Linked DNA regions of Homo sapiens: regions 1, 2 and 4 are each linked to region 3. The links are contacts of gene promoters, found by promoter capture Hi-C in blood cells and fetal thymus (Javierre and others, 2016). All regions are on one chromosome and are shown on one strand. The core of a region is centred on a gene start or on the middle of the fragment in contact, and the rest is flanking DNA. Distances in the headings are between cores, read along the strand shown.

Region 1 (4,601 bases), core at 1,461-3,960, 370 kb after region 3:
CTTTCTATGTCTAGCTTATTTCATTTAGCATAATGTCCTCCAGATCCATCCATTTTATCACAAATGATAGGGTTTCCTTCTTTTTTAAGGCTGAATAGTATTCCATTGTATCTTATATACATTTTCTTTATCCATTCATCCACTGATAAACACCTGGGTTGCTTCCATATCTTGGCTATTGTGAATACTGCTGCAATGAACATGGGACTGCACATACCTCTTAGACAATTTCAATTCCTTTGGATACATGCCCAGAAGTGGAATTGGTGGATTGGTGTACAATAATTTGACATATATTTAAAACATTTCTAGTTTTTCGCTATTACAAATAATGCTGCAATTAATATCATTGTGTATTTCTTTAAGTACTGGTCTTTACATTTCTATCAGATAAACCCCCATAAGTAGAATTTTCAGGCCAGAGAATGTCATTTTAATAAATATTGCTACATTACGTTCCCAAAAAGTAATACTAACTTACAGACCCAATAGTTTGAGAGTAACTTTTCCCCATGCCCTATTAGTACTAGAAATCATATTCACTTTTGTCCATCTGATGGCAGGGGTGGGAGGATGCTATACATTATTAGGGACAGAGAACATCTTTTCATCTGTTCACTGTCCATCTATATTTCACCCTTTTGTGAAATGCCTGTTCCAATCCTTTGTCCTTGATTCTGTTGGTTTGTCTTCTTATTTGTACTAACTTGAGATGTCTTTTATCAAAGTTTTAAAATTTTTTCGGCAATCAAATCTGCCAATTTCTTCTCTTATGGATTATGAATTCTTAAGTTTTGCTTAGGCCTCTTCTGCTATCCAAGGATTATTAAAATAATCTATGTTTTCCTCTAATTATTTTATTACAATTTTGTTGTTTTATATTTAGATCTTTAATCAATCTGGAATTTATTCATGTGGTGTAATGACTTAGTAGTTGTTCCAACACCATTTATTGAATTATCCATTTTTAAATGCTTCCTCCTAGAGTAACAGATCACTACAAATAGCTAAGACGGCAGACAGACAAAATGCCTAGAAATTTTTAAACGTCACTACTTAAAGCAGTATCCAAAGTTTATTAAAAGACATTCATCATTTTCTCATTAAAAGAAATCACATATTAGGACACATGCACACAGTGAACCACTCAACATACACTGTGAAGTTTTTTTTTTCAACATAGTAGCAAACTAAATTAAATCGCTGATCTAACTATATAAGCCTGATTTTGTTTCAACATAAATGGTAAAAGCAGAAATAATCATTGCTTGAAATCTCAAGATTAGTCATTGATTTGGGTCGCAAATATTTATTGAGCACCAACTGACTATGGATACAATGGGGAACAAAACAAGTTTGATCCCTACTTTCAGGAAGCTTGCAATCTAGTAGGAGCTTCTCTCCTCTAAAAAATAATGTTTTTAAGTGAAGAAGGAAAAAAAAGAAATGTACGTTCACACAAACGCAAAGCAGTGAAAAACATTCCGGCAAATTTTATGACACATTCTGTACTTCCCATTTCCAAAATACTATCTTATTACTTCAAATGTACCTATTTATTGTGGTGACTGTCTTCATTACTGTACTCATGTTGAAAACACTGCTAGGGAGTTATGACTAATTCCATTAGCCTCTATCTCAAAGTACCTATGTTTAGTCTCCTCACTTTCTCAACAATATTTAATTTCTTTCATTACAATAAATAAAAACCTCAATAAGAGAAATTACAAACCTATATACATCAGTCATGTTCAGTCCACCGACTCAAAAGTATTTCTTTAAAGTACATGCAGATTTAAAAATTTTCCATGAATCCGCGCGGGCGTGGTGGCGGGCGCCTGTAATCCCAACTACTCGGGAGGCTAAGGCAGGAGAATCGCTTGAACCCGGGAAGCGGAGGTTGCAGTGAGCCCAGGTTGTGCCACTGCACTCCAGCCTCGGTGACAAAAGAGAAACTCCGTCTCAACAAATAAATAAATAAATAACTCCTAGAGTCTTAGCAAATGGCACTACTGTGTCGCTGGGAGACGAAGCAAGAAGTCTGGTGTTCCCTCAACAATAGGTAACAACTGATTAGTGACAGTCACCTTAAACTTTTTGAGTACCAAGACCCAGAAACTGCCACCACTCTTAGACTGAAGCGTTCAGATGCTTGCCCCTGTGGTAACGCCCCCCACCTCAATCCCAATCCAAGGCCTCCCCCTCATACTCCAGCACCTCCCAACTGAATGGGGAGGTGGGACAAAGTACCGCCCAAGGGAAGGAGACGGGACTCCTGCTCCTGCGGGGTGACCTTGGCCAAGTGTCTCCTTCTCAGTTTTCCCATATGTGAGATAAGGTTGGTAGTCCGTGCCCGCCTCCACCATCCGGGCCGGGTTCAGCGTATAATGCCGCAAGGCTGGAGGAAAGCTCCAGCCCTGTACCCCACGCGGCTCCCCGAGACCGCGCCGCCACCTTCTGGGTCTGCGGCCAGCCGCGCTACCTGCAATCTGGGAGACGAAGGCTTCCGCCACTAGAGACATGTCGGCTGGGAGGCCCGGCGCCCGGGTGCCTGCCCCCCACGGGCCTCAGCGTCCTCCACCGCAAACCCGGAGGCTCTCGGCAGTTAACGAGCCTAGCCCCGCCAACGTTCAGACTCGCAAAGCCCACTCCAACAGCAGCGGCGGCTGCAGTGAGGCCCCCAAGGTTACCGCCAGGCCTGGCTAGGGACTTCCGGCGCAGCCGACAACGGCACTCGAGCGCTTCCGCCGGCCCCGCCCCCGCGCCGTCCTACGGGGCGCCGGCGCGGCTAGCTCCGTCCAGCCAATTCCAGGCTCTGCGCTGGGGGCCCGCAGGTGGAAGCGAAGTACCCGACTCGTCTCCCACCCAGGGGACTGGCAGGGGAATCTGGGAGATTTTTAGCGTCCTTTCTGTAAGCCAGAATTTTGTAACCGAGTAACATTTGTAAACGCCCACTGGATACCAGGCACTTATATACCTATATCTACACACACATATATACATATATACACACACACATACACACATATATAATATATACACGTATATATGTACACATGTACATATATACACATATATACATATATATACACATATATTCTATTTGACTTCGTCTTCTCAACAACCCATTAAAGTAATAATATTATCGCCATTTTACGGATAAGAATATAGGCTTAAGGAGTTTAAACTGCCTGCCCAGGCAGTCCTCCAAGGACCAGATTCAAGGCTGCATGAATTCCCTCTATTCCATTATATTGCTGGGTTGATTAGTCCGTGGATAGACATTAGTGTTTTTTGTTGTTGTTGTTTATTCAAACATGCTTGGCAGAAAGGAGGCTTGAGCAGCGCCTAAGCCAGAAGGTAATTTGTCCTTCAACTCCATACACCCGAAATGATGCTCAGCTTGGAGAATAAGATACTTTAGTTTCACACACTTCTCACCTTTCGGGGGTGAACGGGGCAGGAAGAGGAGAAACTAAATTCCCTGAGTAACTTTGTCTTAACCTAATAGCTTCTTAAATTACACAATTAAAGAAAAATCATATGCATTACAGATTGGTGGTATTACAAGTGGGACAGGCTTCAGAGCTGGTAACCCAAAGCCCCCTTCACTGATGAGAAACAAGTTCAGAGAGGTGAGGTAACTCATTTTAAATCACACAGTAAATCAAAAAGTCAGACAGCTTACTAGGTTTTTGCAGAGGAAACCTGTATTCTAAGAATTACTGTCCATGACATTTAGAAAGCTATATTTCCATTCTTTATATCCGTAGATCTCTATTACTGTTCATTCTGCCTCCTTAACTAGCGTGGTTGGTTTCCTAGAGCTGCCAGATTACCACAAACTGGTTGGCTAAACAACAGAAATTCATTCTCACAATTCTGGAGGCTAGAAGTCTGAAATCAAGGTGTCAGCAGGGCCATGCTGTCTTGCAAGGCTCCAGAGAAGGGGGTTGCCGGCAATCTTCCATGTACTTTGGCTTGTAGATACATCACTCCAATCTCTGCCACCACATCACACGGCATTCCCCCTGTGTGTCAATGTGTTCAAATTTCTCTCTTCTTGAGAAATAACACCAGTCATTGTGTTAGGGACCCCCACCCTAATCCAGCAGGACCTCATCTTAACATGATTTCTTTTCTTTTCTTTTCTTTTTTTTTTTTTTTTTTTTTGAGATGGAGTCTTGCTCTGTCACCTAGGCTGGAGTGCAGTGGCGTGATCTCGGCCCACTGCAACCTCCACCTTCCAGGTTCAAGCGATTCTCCTGCCTTGGCCTCCCAAATAGCTGAGATTACAGGTGCGTGCCACCATGCCCGGCTAATTTTTGTATTTTTAGTAGAGACCGGGTTTCACCATGTTGGCCAGGCTGGTCTCGAACTCCTGACCTCATGATCCGCCCGCCTTGGCTTCACAAAGTGCTGGAATTACAGGCGTGAGCCACTGTGCCCAGCCCCATAATTTTTTTAAGGTTAAGTCATATTTTCATCTCCCTCAGCAAAAGGAAGCTTCTTAAACAGCATTTAAATTTACCCAATAATTTACATTGACATAAACACAGCAGCGTCTTAGGAAGTAGTGTCTTCTCTATAGCTGAAATTCA
Region 2 (4,852 bases), core at 5-2,504, 400 kb after region 3:
ACATTTTGTGCACGAACAATATGCACAATATGTTTGTATGGTGTTCCTTGCCACCTCATTTGCATACAGCCTTCTGATGTTCCATGAGCAGAGAATTCCAGTGGACCCAGCATGGGAGATCAGCAAGACGGAAGCAAATAGATAAACATTTTATGGGAGCCACTGGCTTCCACAGAGTGTTGGTAGAACAGGCATGTATCAAAAAGTGGAATAAAAAACAGTTGTTAGGTTTTTTGCATCATTTCCAGTGTTCTGGTAAGAACAAAATACATATGCATGCACAAGCTACAAAATACAAATTATATTATATCAGTGGTTCTAAATACAGTTTTGCATTTAAAACTGGCATTCCATAATATAAAGATGAATGGTTTTTAAAAATTATGCCAATAATTTAAATTTTTAATTTTTCTTCACTTAGACCAGCATTAAATAACAAACAACACCATGACAAGTCAAGAGAAAGACTGTGGAAGCAAGAAAAAAGCTTTACCTTTAAGTATCTTTAATGGCACTTTTCCCCAGATTTCAAAACAAGGGCCCTGTGTTTTCATTTTGCACGGGGCCTCACAAATACTGTAACCAGTACTGGTTACACATTCTTTGTCTTCCCCCAGAATCCTCCTGCAGGAAGCATCTGTCTTCTATTCTAAAGTCATTAGTTCACCTTTGCAGCTGAGTTTGGGCTGGAGAAGGGACATCTTTATTTTGGCAAATGGCAGAAGAACTGGCAAACAGAAATAGCAAAAGGAATAGACATGTTTCCTGAACTCTAGTATGGTAAAATGCTTAAGCTCTTACAGATTAGGTTTTCTTTGCTTCATTGTGGTTTACAGCTATGGATTTTTCACACTGAAGGGCAGTTGTCAAATAAATATTTTTCCTTCATCACTTCTTTACACTCAAGACTTCTCAGTATCAGTACCATCTTATTATGAATTCATTTTATCTTAGAGCTACTAGAAATGATTTAAGACCAACAAAAAGCTGTGTTATTAATTTTTATTTTGTGCTTTTTGTCATTGTCTCTATGAACCATTTTCAGATTGTTTCAACAAATATTTTTGGAGAGCCAGCTTTATGAGGACCACTGTGCTAGACACTGAGGACACCCAGTGAAAAAGAGTCCCCACCTGCCAGGGGTTTAGGTCTAATCATCCTCCAGAGGGAATAAATGGGCCAAAATATGATGGTGAGGGCTGGTTTATGTGGAAAGTTCTTTGGGTTTTGTTTTTTTTCTTCACACAAAGTGAACTCTATTCTTTGCGGTACATAAATCACTCCCTAATAGTGAGGTAAGTCCATTAAGTTAACTTAGAGCACCACTGGTTATATTATTGCTGCAGGAAATGGCAAGTCAGGATTGCAACTGACTCATTTTAGAGGAAGAAATGCCCCTTTGAAAAAAACTATTGTCCTTTGGAGCTGAAATTTCTTTCTCTGATTTTTAAAGCCAAGTACAGAAAGGCTGTTTAGGAGAATGAGACTAAAATAAAACTCCCTAAGTCCCAAATCTGTGATTCAGAGTAACTCCACTGACAATGATCAAAATCATTCCTCAAGTCGTGGCAGGCTGCTGTTATCCTTCCAGAGTCCATTTATCCATAAGTCTCTGAGGCCCTTTGTTTTCAACATTCACTCGCTCTTCTTCATTCCTAACACCTACATTAAGAGTGATCAATTGTGATGTGCTTCTGACACCAGGTTCTTGAGAGTGGTGCTTTTAGCTTTATTAGAAAACTCTTCCTGAAAATGGTTTAATGTATATCTTAAATTATGTATTTAACGTGGAAAGACAAACTTTTTGAGACTTGATTTCATTAAATTCTCATGGATACTTTATTCCCAATAGTTCCCAGTTACATCATATTTATCTATTCCCCAACATTTATTCTTTCCTTCTTCCTTGCAATAATACTGATTTTTAGCTGAGCAACCTGGAATAAACCCCACCAGAACAAATTTAGTCACCTGGAATAAAGACATTTCCCAGCTAGGTATCACCACATGACTAAGCTTTATATAATATCCCTTCCTGTTAGCTGCAATGCACATGTAATCGCTGGAACTTTAGCAGCCACTTTGGACTATGAGATGGAACATCAAAGACAGGAAAACAAAAAGACAGAAGTTTGAATCCCTGATGATTTCAAAGACTGCCTACTTCTAGACTTTTTTTTTTTTTTTTTGAGGCAGTCTTGCTCTGTCACCCAAACTGGAGTGCAGTGGCACGATCTCAGCTTACTGCAACCTCTGTCTCCAGGGTTCAAGCAATTCTCCTGCCTCAGCCTCTTGAGTAGCTGGGACTACAAGCATGCGCCACCACACTTGGCTAATTTTGTATTTTTAGTAGAGACAACATGGGGTTTCACCATGTTGGCCAGGCTGGTCTCGAACTCCTGACCTCAGGTGATCTGACCACATGGGCCTCCCAAAGTGCTGGGATTATAGGCTTAGTCACGGCGCCCGGCTGACTTATAGACTTTTAGATGAAAGAAAAGTGCAACTCCATCTTGTTAAAGTCACTATATTACTTTTTGTGTCTCTGTTACTTGCAGCTAAACCTAATTCTAACTGATAATTTATTATAGATTCCTGGTTCATTCTGCCTAGATGAATGCAGTCTTTTTTTTTTTTTCTTTGAGACGGAGTCTTGCTCTGTCGCCCAGGCTGGAGTGCAGTGGGGCGATCTTGGCTCACTGCAAGCTCTGCCTCCCGAGTTCGCGCCATTCTCCTGCCTCAGCCTCCTGAGTAGCTGGGACTACAGGCGCCCGCCACCACGCCCGGCTAATTTTTTGTATTTTTAGTAGAGACGGAGTTTCACCATGTTAGCCAGGATGGTCTCGATCTCCTGACCTCGTGATCCGCCCATCTTGGCCTCCCAAAGAGCTGGGATTACAGGCGTGAGCCACTGCGCCCTGCTGGTGAATGCAGTCTTAATACTTATTCTTTTTTCTCTACCTTGAAATTTATTGCTCCTTTGGCTAGAGAATCCTTAAGGAATATTATGTTTTTCACAGTTCAGTTAATTCATCTTTGTTATAAAAATGACTTAAACAATATAAGAGCAACAAATATTAAAGTAATAGCTGTAAATAGCAGTTATTGGTTTTCTGTCAATGCATATTCTAATTCTGCTAAGACTTTGAGTTTGGCTTATCTAGAGCACTCAGCACTGAGCCCACCTCTGGATTGGTTTCTGGTCCTACCCATTTCACCAGCTTCCACAAATCAATGTTTAATTAGCAAAATAAATAAATTAATTAAATTGAATTAAGGAACAGAGCATCTGAGTACCACCTCAAACCTGTATCAAGTCTGATGGGAGGGAGCATCATGTCTCCTTCTAAGTGGAACATGGGAGAGCATGTCCTGAGATGACATTAAGGAATTGCTAGAATGGGGGAGCCAGGAGATGATGCTGAAGTTATAACCTGAAGACTACTGGTGTCCTTCCAATCCAAATGACAAGGTGAGAACTCGATGGACAAATGAGTTATAGAGTCACCAGCAGAGAGAGTCTCAGACAGATGGGGGAACGCCAGACTGGGTCTACAAAAACGGTTTAGGACTTAGTCCAGCAGCAGAGTAAGCGCTGGTGGGGAGGGGGCATTACCGAGTGCCTTCCAGACACAAGTGAGAAGGATGTTCCAATGGCCTGAAAATTAAAAAGAAGACCTAAGATCATGAGCAAATTGCTACAAATGTGAGAAGAACATGCTGGCTGAAACAAAAATAAAGCACCTAAATAGATAACTATATAAAAATAAAAGTTTTGAAGAAAGTTATGGACAAAATTACCATGCTTTAATTGGTGTAACTTTTTAATTTGAATTTTTGGGTACCTAGATGGATGAGATGACATTAATACCAAGTGATGGTGACCAATATAAGGTCTACTGTCCATTTTAAACTACTCAGTTTCCCTGCACAGAACTATTTCCATCATGAAAATCCTGATGCATAAATAACATTCACTTTAACTCAAAGTAAAAAAGACCAGGAGTGTTGGAAATTAAATTAGTAATTGAAGAGAACCACTCCCAAACAATCTCAAAATATACTTGTTTGAATTACTGGGCACTTTAGTTCCTAAGAGAGCAATGGTAAAATATATCAGCCAGTGGCAATAGATATCAAGAATTTAGCAAGAAAACTAAAACAATAGTTTGTGACTGAACTCCAGTGAGCCTCAGATAAAGTCTTTACTTTCCCACTCTCTTTAATGAGGTGGGTTGGAAAACGGTTTCTCAACCCTGAGAGTTGAAGCCAGTTTAGCCACAGAGCTCCCTGTTCTTTCCTCTTTGGTCTTTTCCTTATTTGAAAAGGGTTTTCACAATGGGGTAGGGTGGCTCACCAAGAACGGGAGCATCTGAGCCCCCAGGAAGAAGGACTGGAATGCAGGAGCTGGCCCAGTCTATCAGACATCTGGAGCTATACAGTCTGATTTGACAGCTGTTTCAGAGTGTACAGAGAGCTAAGCAGGCATTATTCCCAATCTCATTTCCTTCTTTACTTTGAGGCTAGGTACCTGTGATGCCTTTGACACCATGGCAGACAGAGTAACAAACTCTGACTTACTAACAGGAAACATAAAAAGTATTTACTGAATATTGTCTATATGCTTGGTACTCAAAGGATGCAAAATAATAGATACGAGTCCTGCCCTATCCTTATGAGGAAGTTGGCAAAACAAGGAACGAACACATATAATGATCTCTTCATGTATCCCTGACCTCTCTTAGACTGTAAGCTCTATGAGAGTAGGGTCTGTATTCATCATATTACAACTGCTCATAATAACCCAGTTCCTGCCCACTCAATAAATACCAAAAATGAATAAACATGAGCC
Region 3 (5,123 bases), core at 521-3,020:
TCTGGCACAAGGCAGAAAGCCGAGTCCTTAAGTCACTATTCCCCGGTTTCGCAAAACAAAATAAAACCAAAAAGCAACAGCAAAAGGTGTTTGGCAGGTGGGAAAGGGCCTTAAAACACCTTGTGCCCTCCTGGGTCCCTCCCAATGCCTTCAGTGTGGGCTGTGGAAACAACACCGCTCAACACCAAAGTCACCATCGGCAGTTTAAATGCCACAAAAGTACACTTAGAAATGAGAAGAAAGTGGGGCCGGGCGCGGTGACTGACATGGATATGTACAGCCAACCCCACTGCCACTAGAACAGTCTTAAATGCCCACACAAGGAGTATAAAAAGAAAAGCACATTTTGCAATAGAATAAATTCTTTTTTTTTTTTTTTTTTTTTTTTTTTATTGAGACCGCGGAAAGTCACATGACCCTGCATGTAGCCTTTTAGGAAAGCAACCGAAATGGTAAAGCCAGGAGCCGGGGCTGCCTGCTTCCTCCTGCAGCCTTTCAGCCCGTCCTGTCGCGCGTCCACATTCTTCTGGGCGCATCTGTGGAGCTATTAAGTGGGATAATCCCTCTGGCCTTTGATACATTTCTGGACATGATTATTTCATTACTCGCAGTATATCAGTAGGATCATAATAAAAAGGACTTCTGACAACCTGCCAAGAGTTTTGTGGCCTTGTAAACACAAAAGTGCTCTAATAAAATTTTATTAAGTGTTAAAAAGTCATAAAAAGTGAAATAACATAAACTACAAAATTTACTGTCCTCAGCAAATCCTGAAAATATCTTCCACAGTAAAATTAAATTAGCATGTAATAGACAGAGAAGCAGTGTGGAGTGGATTTAAAAGAGGATCCAGGGAAAATGACACTGTAACCCAATCAGGGTCACGGGGATTTAATTCGGATTTTCCCCCTTAAATGTGGATAAATGTGCTGATTACAGACGAGAGCTCCGGGGTTACTGGAGTCTCACACATTGTCAATACTTCGGAAGAAATAATATATTGCAGATTGTAACGAGCACGGGGAGCCAGCGAAAGGCAGGGCGTCCACTAGGGCGCGCTGAGAGACCGGGAATCCCCGCAAGGGCGCCCGCGCCGCCCGCCACCCGCCGCCGCGCGCACGCCGCGCCCTCGCCCACCTCCAAATAATATTTACAGTTAGGGTTTTTTTTTTTTTTTTTTTTTTTTTTTTTGCTCTCGCCCGTGACATTTTCTCCAAATCGGAAGAAAATCAAGTGTATGTCGAGCTTTGCCGCAGGCAGCCCTTGGTCTCCGCTTTCAGATTCGGGGTCCGGGAGCGGAGCGCCCTGCCCGCGGCGGTGCTAAACTCTGGGGCCAGGGTGTGGCCCTCAGCGAGCGCCCTGGGACTGGCCGCCCCGCCGAAGGATGCCGAGGATCGGGCAAGGCCGGCGTCCGGTCTGCGCGGGGCGCGGGTGCTCTCCGAAGGCCGCGAGCCACGGGCCTCGCTGCGGGTTCAAGTGCGTCCGGGTTTGGACGTCGCGGCTCCAGGAGTGTGCTCTCTCTCCTGCCCATCCCCTCCCCGGAGTTCAGCGCATCCGGGGCCCCGGGGACCCCTCTTCCCGGCCCTCCTGGCCGCGCTGGCCCGCCCGCATGGGGCCGAGGTTCCTGGCCGACGCGCGAGGGCGCGGGCGGGTACCGGGTTCCCGTTTTTCCCAGGCCCCGATCCCCGCCCACGCACGAGGCCCCCGGCCCACGCACGAGGCGCCCACGCCCATCGTGGAGGCTCCGCCTGGAAAAGAAGTCCGACTTCCTCTCCAAGCTGCTCCGAGGGGAATGGGGAATCGGCAGGAAATGACCCGAACTGCCAGCCTGCGCCTTTGCAGCCGGCCCTCGCTTTGCTGAAGACGAGCAGCTCCCACCAAAGTCTTGCCTCCCCTTACCCCGAAAGCCCCGCTCAGGTTTGTAAAGAGGGGTGCGAGATCTGAAAAGTATTTGTCTTCTAGGGAGAGAGATGTTGGTAAGGGGCCCAGAGAAAGACGGGTCCTTTTTAGCTCATCAACGCGCCACGTCTTGCTTTGCAGCTCCAAAATGATGCCAGCGCTGCTGTCCGAAGGGTCAATATTAATGCGTTAAGTGAAATGGGAAATAAATGGACAGTGGCACATTTCGTGGCATCATTTTTACAAGGGGATGTCGAAAGTTTTAAGCTGCATTTAAGAATTAGCCACATCTTGCCTGAAAGTTAATATTTTTTGATAAACTCGTTAATAAAGCCTAGAAGAGGTAAGTTAAAGTTAGTTACCACGTAGATCCTCCAGTCTCTTGTAGAGACTTGCGCAGGTTACTAGGATGAGGACGAGTTGTATTTTTAATTTTCTAGACTAAGTGCAAAGGCATTGAGTTTTGAGGTGGCAGGGTTAATGTTCAAGGGCAAATGGAACCGCCAAGGATCTCTTGAAAAGAATTCACTTACTATTAATACTTAAGCCTGAAATAATTATAATTAATTTACAGTGGGAATTATATGCCCATGTTTTAGACTTTTTTGTTATATTAGCTATATGAAAAGGGATGTTCTTTAGTGATTAAAAGAAAAAACCACCTGTTTATTGTCATTTGCAATTTGAAATAGCCGACAGCAGTAAGGCTAGCTACAAAAGCTAACAAGTCAACTTCAGTGTGGTTTGACATTTACTGTCAAAGCTTTGAGCTCTAAGAAAAACAGAATTTAAAATAATGTATATAAATAATAAAATTTCATTGTGACTCAATGTCCCTGCCCCTGGAGAAGGGACAGATGACACTCAGTGACTGGCTTGGAACCATTCCCCCTGCAGATGCATTTGCGGATACAGTGGGCCAGGGCTGCCTCTGAGTATGTACAGCAAGTGCTTATGGACTTACAGAAACAAATGTTTTACTATTTAGGATTTTCTCAATAGTTTACACTAAAAGTTTTGCATGTAGAAATGTGGGATAAATATTTCTTTGAAAGGAAAAGTTTCGAAAGGAAACTTTATACTTGTATTTTTTTGTGTGTTCACATTTCTAAGTTCATCTGTCTTTCAAAAAACAGATTTTCATAAATATTAAAATATTGCAAGTATTATTTTTAATTCTTTTGAGTGCCATGTTTGCTGTAAGTAGTTTTTTCTTTTAAGTAAGATTAATATAATCCTGTCTAAGGAGTTTAATAGAGAGAACAGGATTTCCAAGCCTATAAATGCAGTCTATATAAAATAGTGGGATCAAAGTTTTTTGTTAAGAAACTTGAGAATTTATACATTTTAAATGAAGATAGAAGCACGTTTTAAAAGTAGTTTTTCCACACCATTTCCCTCCCCCCAAAAGAATTCAGAAACTATATTCCATAGTCTAAAAATGGCATAATCAGATGTAAAAATTATTACCATAATATATAGTTTTCTCAAGATGGTGGATACTTTTTAATATATTATGAAGAGTTATATTCTCAGCCCACTGTGTGTTTGAGGGAATGGAAAAGACAAGATGTTTCTAAACATATTTTACTACTGAAATCCATAAGACTATTAAGCTGTGCAGGTAATTGTGTTCTAAGTGGTAGAAGTATTTTTCCAACTGCTTTTTAAACTTTGAAAAATTTATATGTATTTTAATTAGCACTTTTCTTTTAAAGGTTCCAAATATTTAGCTATATCAGCTATGTGATAAAAATTATTGGAATTTGTTCCCTACTACTTTCTGCATAAACAATTGAGAAATATTTTATACTAATCTTTTTATATACAGGGGATAAATTTGAACATGTGTCTTGTTGGTGTAATAAACAATCCAAATTCATTTCTTTCTTGAAAACTTGGCATCGATCTTCATCTTATTTTTTATGCACACAATTTGGACATGCCAGTTTGTAGGCAAGTTTTAAGACAGTGCAAGTTTTATGTGGAAGAATGTATATTAAGGAATGAATAGCTAATAGCCAAAATTAAATCAGGAGGTGTGGCATTCACTCCTTTGGATGATTATTTTAAAGATAGTTTTGCACTCAGGAAGGATTTTCTTATGCTCTGTATTTATGAATATCTAAATTATCCTGCCTTGCAACTTCAAAACTCAATAACCAAATACCAAATTTATGTATTTTCAGTGTGACTAAGGCTAGGAATATGAGAAGCAGATTGGTTTTATAAAAGAAAGCAAGCATTTACAATTGTATTTTAAAATATAATCCTAATTTCAGTTTCTGACAGAAATCTTGTGGTCAGCTCATCAGTTTTTCAGATCAGTTTCTAAATAGCATATAAAAACTACCTTTTCCACATCAGAAGTTCATATTTAGGTTTCCTTAACTGCAAAATCACTTTAAAAGAGAGTGTTTTATGTGAAGGGCCATTTCATGTGTTGGTTCCATCGATTACATATGAATGTATAAAAATCTTGTTTAAAGACCAGTAAAAGTGAGGAAATTCCAAGTCAGGCTGGCTAATTCCATTCATAATTCATCCCGAGTACCTGACTGAGGAAACTTGCAAACAGTTTATAGCTATACATACAAAATAAGTTGACGTGCTTTGTAAGCTGGAAGCAGAGTTAAGTTTGACCTCCCTGCTTGGAAGGTCTTAAATTAATAAAATTATGGAATATGGTTAAGCTTTTCAGTTTCCCAAGAATTTTCCAATATCGATGCTTTTTGGATTTTTGCATTTTGAAAATGTAAGCATGGAAGGACAACTTCTTTTGTGCTGAGATGAAGTTAGCTTTTACCCATCCATTTCCTTCCCACTTAACACATTTGTTCAGTAATTCTTCGAGTGCTGGGGGACAGAGGCCCTGCCTTGAGAAAAGCATATGCCATTTCTCTGCCCCCTTCAACCATCCCCACCCCCAGCCCTCCCTTTATTTCAAGCCAGTTGGACAAGTATTTAGCATTGACACATGTTTCAAACTGCTGCATCCACAGCCCTAGGTAGTTTTGGGGATTGGCAGGAAATCCATCTAGACTTTGCCTTCTGAGCTGGGTAAAACTACTAGGAAGTCCTATGCCTTGATATTGTGGCACTTCTAGGCTGTCTTTCCAATTTTAAGCAATCCATCAGTTGTTTTCTAAGACTGCACTGTAGACTGATGCCTTCTCTTAGTTTTGATGTTCAGAAGATTTTTTAAACATGTTCATAGATTTCTT
Region 4 (4,564 bases), core at 378-2,877, 440 kb after region 3:
CCCATGTATATCACAGACATTTTTATTTAATTATTCAAGAATTGGCACATGAGAAGCATTATCTAATTCCTCTGGGACCTTCCACTGGCAAAAATAAATGCAATGACTGTGGCTACCAGATGAATTTTGCCCTTTTTCTTATATTTGAAAGTAATGACTTTATTATTTCTGAATTTAATTATTTAAATTTTAAGCAAAACAGAAAATCACTACAAAGAAAAAAATGTCAACAAAATCTTACTATGTAGAAGAAACCGACCCCTTCCCTCAGCTGCCGCCAAGCTGCTCGGTCCTTCCGAGGAAGCTAAGGCCGCGTTGGGGTAAGGCCCTCACTTCATCCTGCGACTAGCACCGCGTCCGGCAGCGCCTGCCCTACACTCGCCCGTGCCATGGCCTCCGTCTCCAAGCTCGCCTGCATCTACTCGGCCCTCATTCTGCACGACGATGAGGTGACAGTCACGGAGGATAAGATCAATGCCCTCATTAAAGCAGCCGGTGTAAATGTTGAACCTTTTTGGCCTGGCTTGTTTGCAAAGGCCCTGGCCAACGTCAACATTGGGAGCCTCATCTGCAATGTAGGGGCTGGTGGACCTGCTCCAGCAGCTGGTGCTGCACCAGCAGGACGTCCTGCCCCCTCCACTGCTGCTGCTCCAGCTGAGGAGAAGAAAGTGGAAGCAAAGAAAGAAGAATCCAAGGAGTCTGATGATGACATGGGCCTTGGTCTTTTTGACTAAACCTCTTTTATAACGTGTTCAATAAAAAGCTGAACTTAAAAAAAAAAAGAAGTAACCATCATTAATATTAGGTGAACATCTTTCTTGACAGCTCTATGTAGACACTCAGATATTAGGAGTGATCGGTGCATAAATAACTTGGTACATAGAAATAATTTTATAAAACTGGATACATATTATGCATGCTATTTTTAAATAAAAATATTAAATTTACATTTACTTAGACGTAATAAGAGAGAGAAACCAGATGAAACTAACAGATAACTGTTTCTTCTTCACTAAGAGAGCCCTCTAGAAGTATGGGAGAAAAATATTTACAAGTTTGGATTTTTTTAGCAATCCAAATGTGTTGTTGAACTTTATTAAAGTGTTCCTAAAATTAAAAATATAACAAATAAATCAGTTGGGCATGGTGGCACACACCTGTAGTCCCAGCTACTGGGGAGGCTGGGGCAGGAGGATGGCTTGAGCCCAGAAGCTAGAGGCTATAGTTAGTTATCTATAATTGTGCCTGTGAATAGCCACTGTACTCCAGCCTAGGCAACATAGTGAGACTCTGTCTCTAATTTAAAAAAAAAAAAGTAAATAAATAAATAAACAAGCAATTCTAATACTACATAATCTTAATTGAGAAAGCTTTAAGCTAAATCTATTCATCTTGAGTTCCAAATGATAATTATGTTTTATAACTAAAATTGGAAGGAGGCAGAAATAGAACATCTGAAACCTTTAGTCTTTATTTACATATGAATTGCAGCTAGCTTACCTTTGTCATTGTGACACATGTTGAATTAGGGACAGGTATAAAGCAATACCTTTATTCCTCTTAGTTCATTCAGAACAAAGTTCATTCATTTCATTGGTGTACTAAAATATCTAAGCTGCAATTGTTTGTGTTTACATGGAACCAATTGAGATAACATTGTCCTCTAAAATATGTAAATTTTTTAAAATCAAGGGCCAAGCCCCAAATTACAAACCTTTAATAAAAACAGGCCTTGAGAATTCTCAGATAGCTTCCCCATGTGACAATTCTGAAGCATACAAACACAGTTGTTTCTGAAGTTCCCAAAGGAACCATATGCTGCTAGAAAAATAGATTATTCTGGTTGTATGTGTGCTTTTATTTGCAGTCAAAACAGAAGCTTATTGGACTTTCTTGGCAGGTTAACCCAAGGAAGTTTAAATTTTAAATCTTTTTAAGATTTTTAGGGACAAATAGTATGCTATTTTTGTCTGAATAAGAAATATTGTTGTTTTAATTCATCATTTGGAGCTCATTTTATATATTCACATAGAATCTACCTTTTCTACAATTTTTTTTTTTTTTTTTGAGACGGAGTTTCACTCTTGTTGCCCAGGCTGGAGTGCAATGGCGTGAACTCAGCTCACCGCAACCTCCGCCTCCCAGATTCAAATGATTCTCCTGCCTCAGCCTCCTGAGTAGCTGGGATTACAGGCATGCATCACCACACCCGGCTAATTTTTGTATTTTTAGTAGAGATGGGGTTTCTCCATTTTGGTCAGGCTGGTCTTGAACTCCCAACCTCAGATGATCTGCCCGCCTCGGCCTCCCAAAGTGCTGGGATTACACACATGAGCCACGGTGCCCGACCTACAATTATTTCATAAGCGAGTAGTTTTTTTCCCCCTATATGAAGCTAACACACTTCACATATTCAAAATGTGACTCAAGTTTCAGATGTAAGAGGAGATGTAAACATTTACATATGATAGAGTAATTACTCATACAGGCAATTGAATACTAACACTATTTTGACAATTAGATCATAAGCAATCAGGAAAAATAATTTCTATTTATATAGAACTGTCCTTCAGCCATTAATTAGACCACAACGTGTCCTTTTTGCAGCAAGTTTTTATTTATTTTTTTCAGTTTAAGGGTAGGTTTTTATAGACCCACAATGGCAATAGAGTTTTTTTGTTTGTTTGGTTTTCGTTTTTTGTTTGTTTGTTTGCTTTTGAGACGGAGTCTCACTCTGTCGCCCAGGCTGGAGTGCAGTGGCGTGATCTCAGCTCACTGCAAGCTCCGCCTCCCGGGTTCACGCCCTTCTCCTGCCTCAGCCTCCCGAGTAGCTGGGTCTACAGGCGCCTGCCACCAAGCCCAGCTAATTTTTTGTATTTTTAGTAGAAACGGGGTTTCATCATGTTGGCCAGGATAGTCTCTATCTCTTGACCTCGTGATCCACCCGCCTCGGCCTCCCAAAGTGCTGGGATTACAGGCGTGAGCCACCGCGCCCGGCCGGAAATAGTTACAGTTTTATGCACAGTTGAGAAAATTCACAATTCCCCACTGCCAGAGTAGGTAGAGGGAAGAATTTTTCCTTTCTGCAGCAACAGGAGTTAATGTGGTTGATCACTCCTCTTCTCACTTTGATGTCCACAGAACACAACCTGAACCTCTCTATTTTAAAGAATGATAAATTCAACCCTGGGGAGGTGCTACAGTGTAGGAAATGTATGTAAATCATCATTGCATTCTAATTTATGGCACCTGACCTCTAAAGTGCCATGTATGTGAATTCACATGTCCTTTTGGATAGAAAAAAACTGAACAAAAGTGTGATGGATTTAAGTTTTCTGTGCTCAGAATAAGCCAGTAAACTAGAAGCAGTGGGTAATGGCCTGACACCTCTTCCATCCTTTATTTCTCCCGGGCTTCTTCTAAGGTCTTGGGGCTTAGTTTAGTGAGTGCCCAGCCATTGCAGTCATCAAGCATTCATTAGCTGCCATTTTCCTTTCCTCTGTTATTATGTACCACCAGTATTTTGCTAAATGTATTGAATAACCCTAGACTTTACTTATTCTCTCCAGCCATATTCACTGCAATGATTCTTCCCTTCCCAGTATCTCTTTAATCCTAATTGGTAATTGTCTGTGCATGGCACCTGGAAACTCAGTACATATTTGTCATATATGTAAGTATTTCTCTCCTTCAGTCCCTGTCTTTCCATCCAAATGCCTATCACAATGCTCATTACCCATTCTGTCTTAATAATTAGCAAAGGTTACACTAGACATTGTTCTAAATGATCCACATGTATTATCTCTGTTCTTCCTCACAAGTCAGTGAAGTAGAGACATTAATATTCCCATTTTTAAGGGAGGAATGTAAAGCTGAATGACACTGAGTCACCTGTCCCGGGATTTGTGCCCAAGCCTGTCTGCTTCCAAGGTTCACTGTGGTAACTACTACATTTAATTGTCTCTAGAAACCCTCTGCTAGACCTCATTTGGTTTCGTCAATCTTTCTCCAGGAGTTCTGTTGCCATAAGGTACTCCAACAACTATAATAAGTAACAAATACAATATATTAAAAAGCCTCAAACAACAACCAAAATGCATTATAAATTACATTCTGTAAGAATAAAAGGGATTGGCTGGGCATAGTGGCTCATGCCTGTAATCCCAGCACTTTGGGAGGCCGAGGCAGGTGGATCACCTGAGGTCAGGAGTTCGAGACCAGCCTGACCAACATGGCGAAACCCCCTCTCTACTAAAAATTCAAAAATCAGCTGGGCATGGTGGTGGCCACCTGTAATCCCAGCTACTCGGGAGGCTGAGGCAGGAGAATTTCTTGAACCAGGGAGGCGGAGATTGCAGTAAGCCAAGATCACACCACTGCATTCCAGCCTGGGCAACAGAGCAAGACTCCATTTCACAAAAAAAAAAAAAAAGAAAGAAAGAATAAAAATAATAAAAGGGATTGTTTTAGATAACATTCACACTTTATTGGTATACAAAGGATTTAATCAAAAGAATGTACCAGATGCATAAGGAGGAAAGTCTATAAGCTCTCCCTCCTTCAG

What was found. Contacts are between HindIII fragments. The CHiCAGO score rates a contact against its expected background, and 5 or more counts as called.
Region 1: the fragment with the promoter of MTX2 here is called in contact with the fragment with the promoter of LINC01116 in region 3 in 1 of 17 cell types (endothelial precursors); the score reaches 5.0 in endothelial precursors.
Region 2: a fragment that was not itself captured here is called in contact with the fragment with the promoter of LINC01116 in region 3 in 1 of 17 cell types (endothelial precursors); the score reaches 6.8 in endothelial precursors.
Region 4: a contact is called between a fragment that was not itself captured here and the fragment with the promoter of LINC01116 in region 3, in 1 of 17 cell types (fetal thymus). The highest score is 5.1, in fetal thymus.

What each region holds. Positions count from the first base shown.
Region 1 is chr2:176,267,551-176,272,151 of GRCh38, reverse strand. It overlaps MTX2 (metaxin 2), which reads right to left and starts at 2,710. Exons shown (of 10, transcript NM_006554.5): 1 at 2,483-2,710. The coding sequence starts at 2,522. RefSeq lists enhancers at 1,816-2,441, 2,442-3,069 and a silencer at 2,774-2,863. The HindIII fragment of the contact is 3,129 bases long and covers 1,380-4,508 here.
Region 2 is chr2:176,230,914-176,235,765 of GRCh38, reverse strand. No RefSeq gene overlaps it. Among named protein-coding and RNA genes, the nearest start is that of MTX2, 36 kb to the left of the region's middle. The HindIII fragment of the contact is 1,529 bases long and covers 490-2,018 here.
Region 3 is chr2:176,634,256-176,639,378 of GRCh38, reverse strand. It overlaps LINC01116 (long intergenic non-protein coding RNA 1116), which reads left to right and starts at 1,770. Exons shown (of 5, transcript NR_188023.1): 1 at 1,770-1,917. LINC01117 (long intergenic non-protein coding RNA 1117) reads right to left here and starts at 1,625. Exons shown (of 4, transcript NR_110599.1): 1 at 1,371-1,625. RefSeq lists an enhancer at 436-950 and a silencer at 1,111-1,160. The HindIII fragment of the contact is 4,643 bases long and covers 1-2,664 here.
Region 4 is chr2:176,197,078-176,201,641 of GRCh38, reverse strand. It overlaps the pseudogene RPLP1P4. Among named protein-coding and RNA genes, the nearest start is that of HAGLR, 10 kb to the right of the region's middle. The HindIII fragment of the contact is 509 bases long and covers 1,373-1,881 here.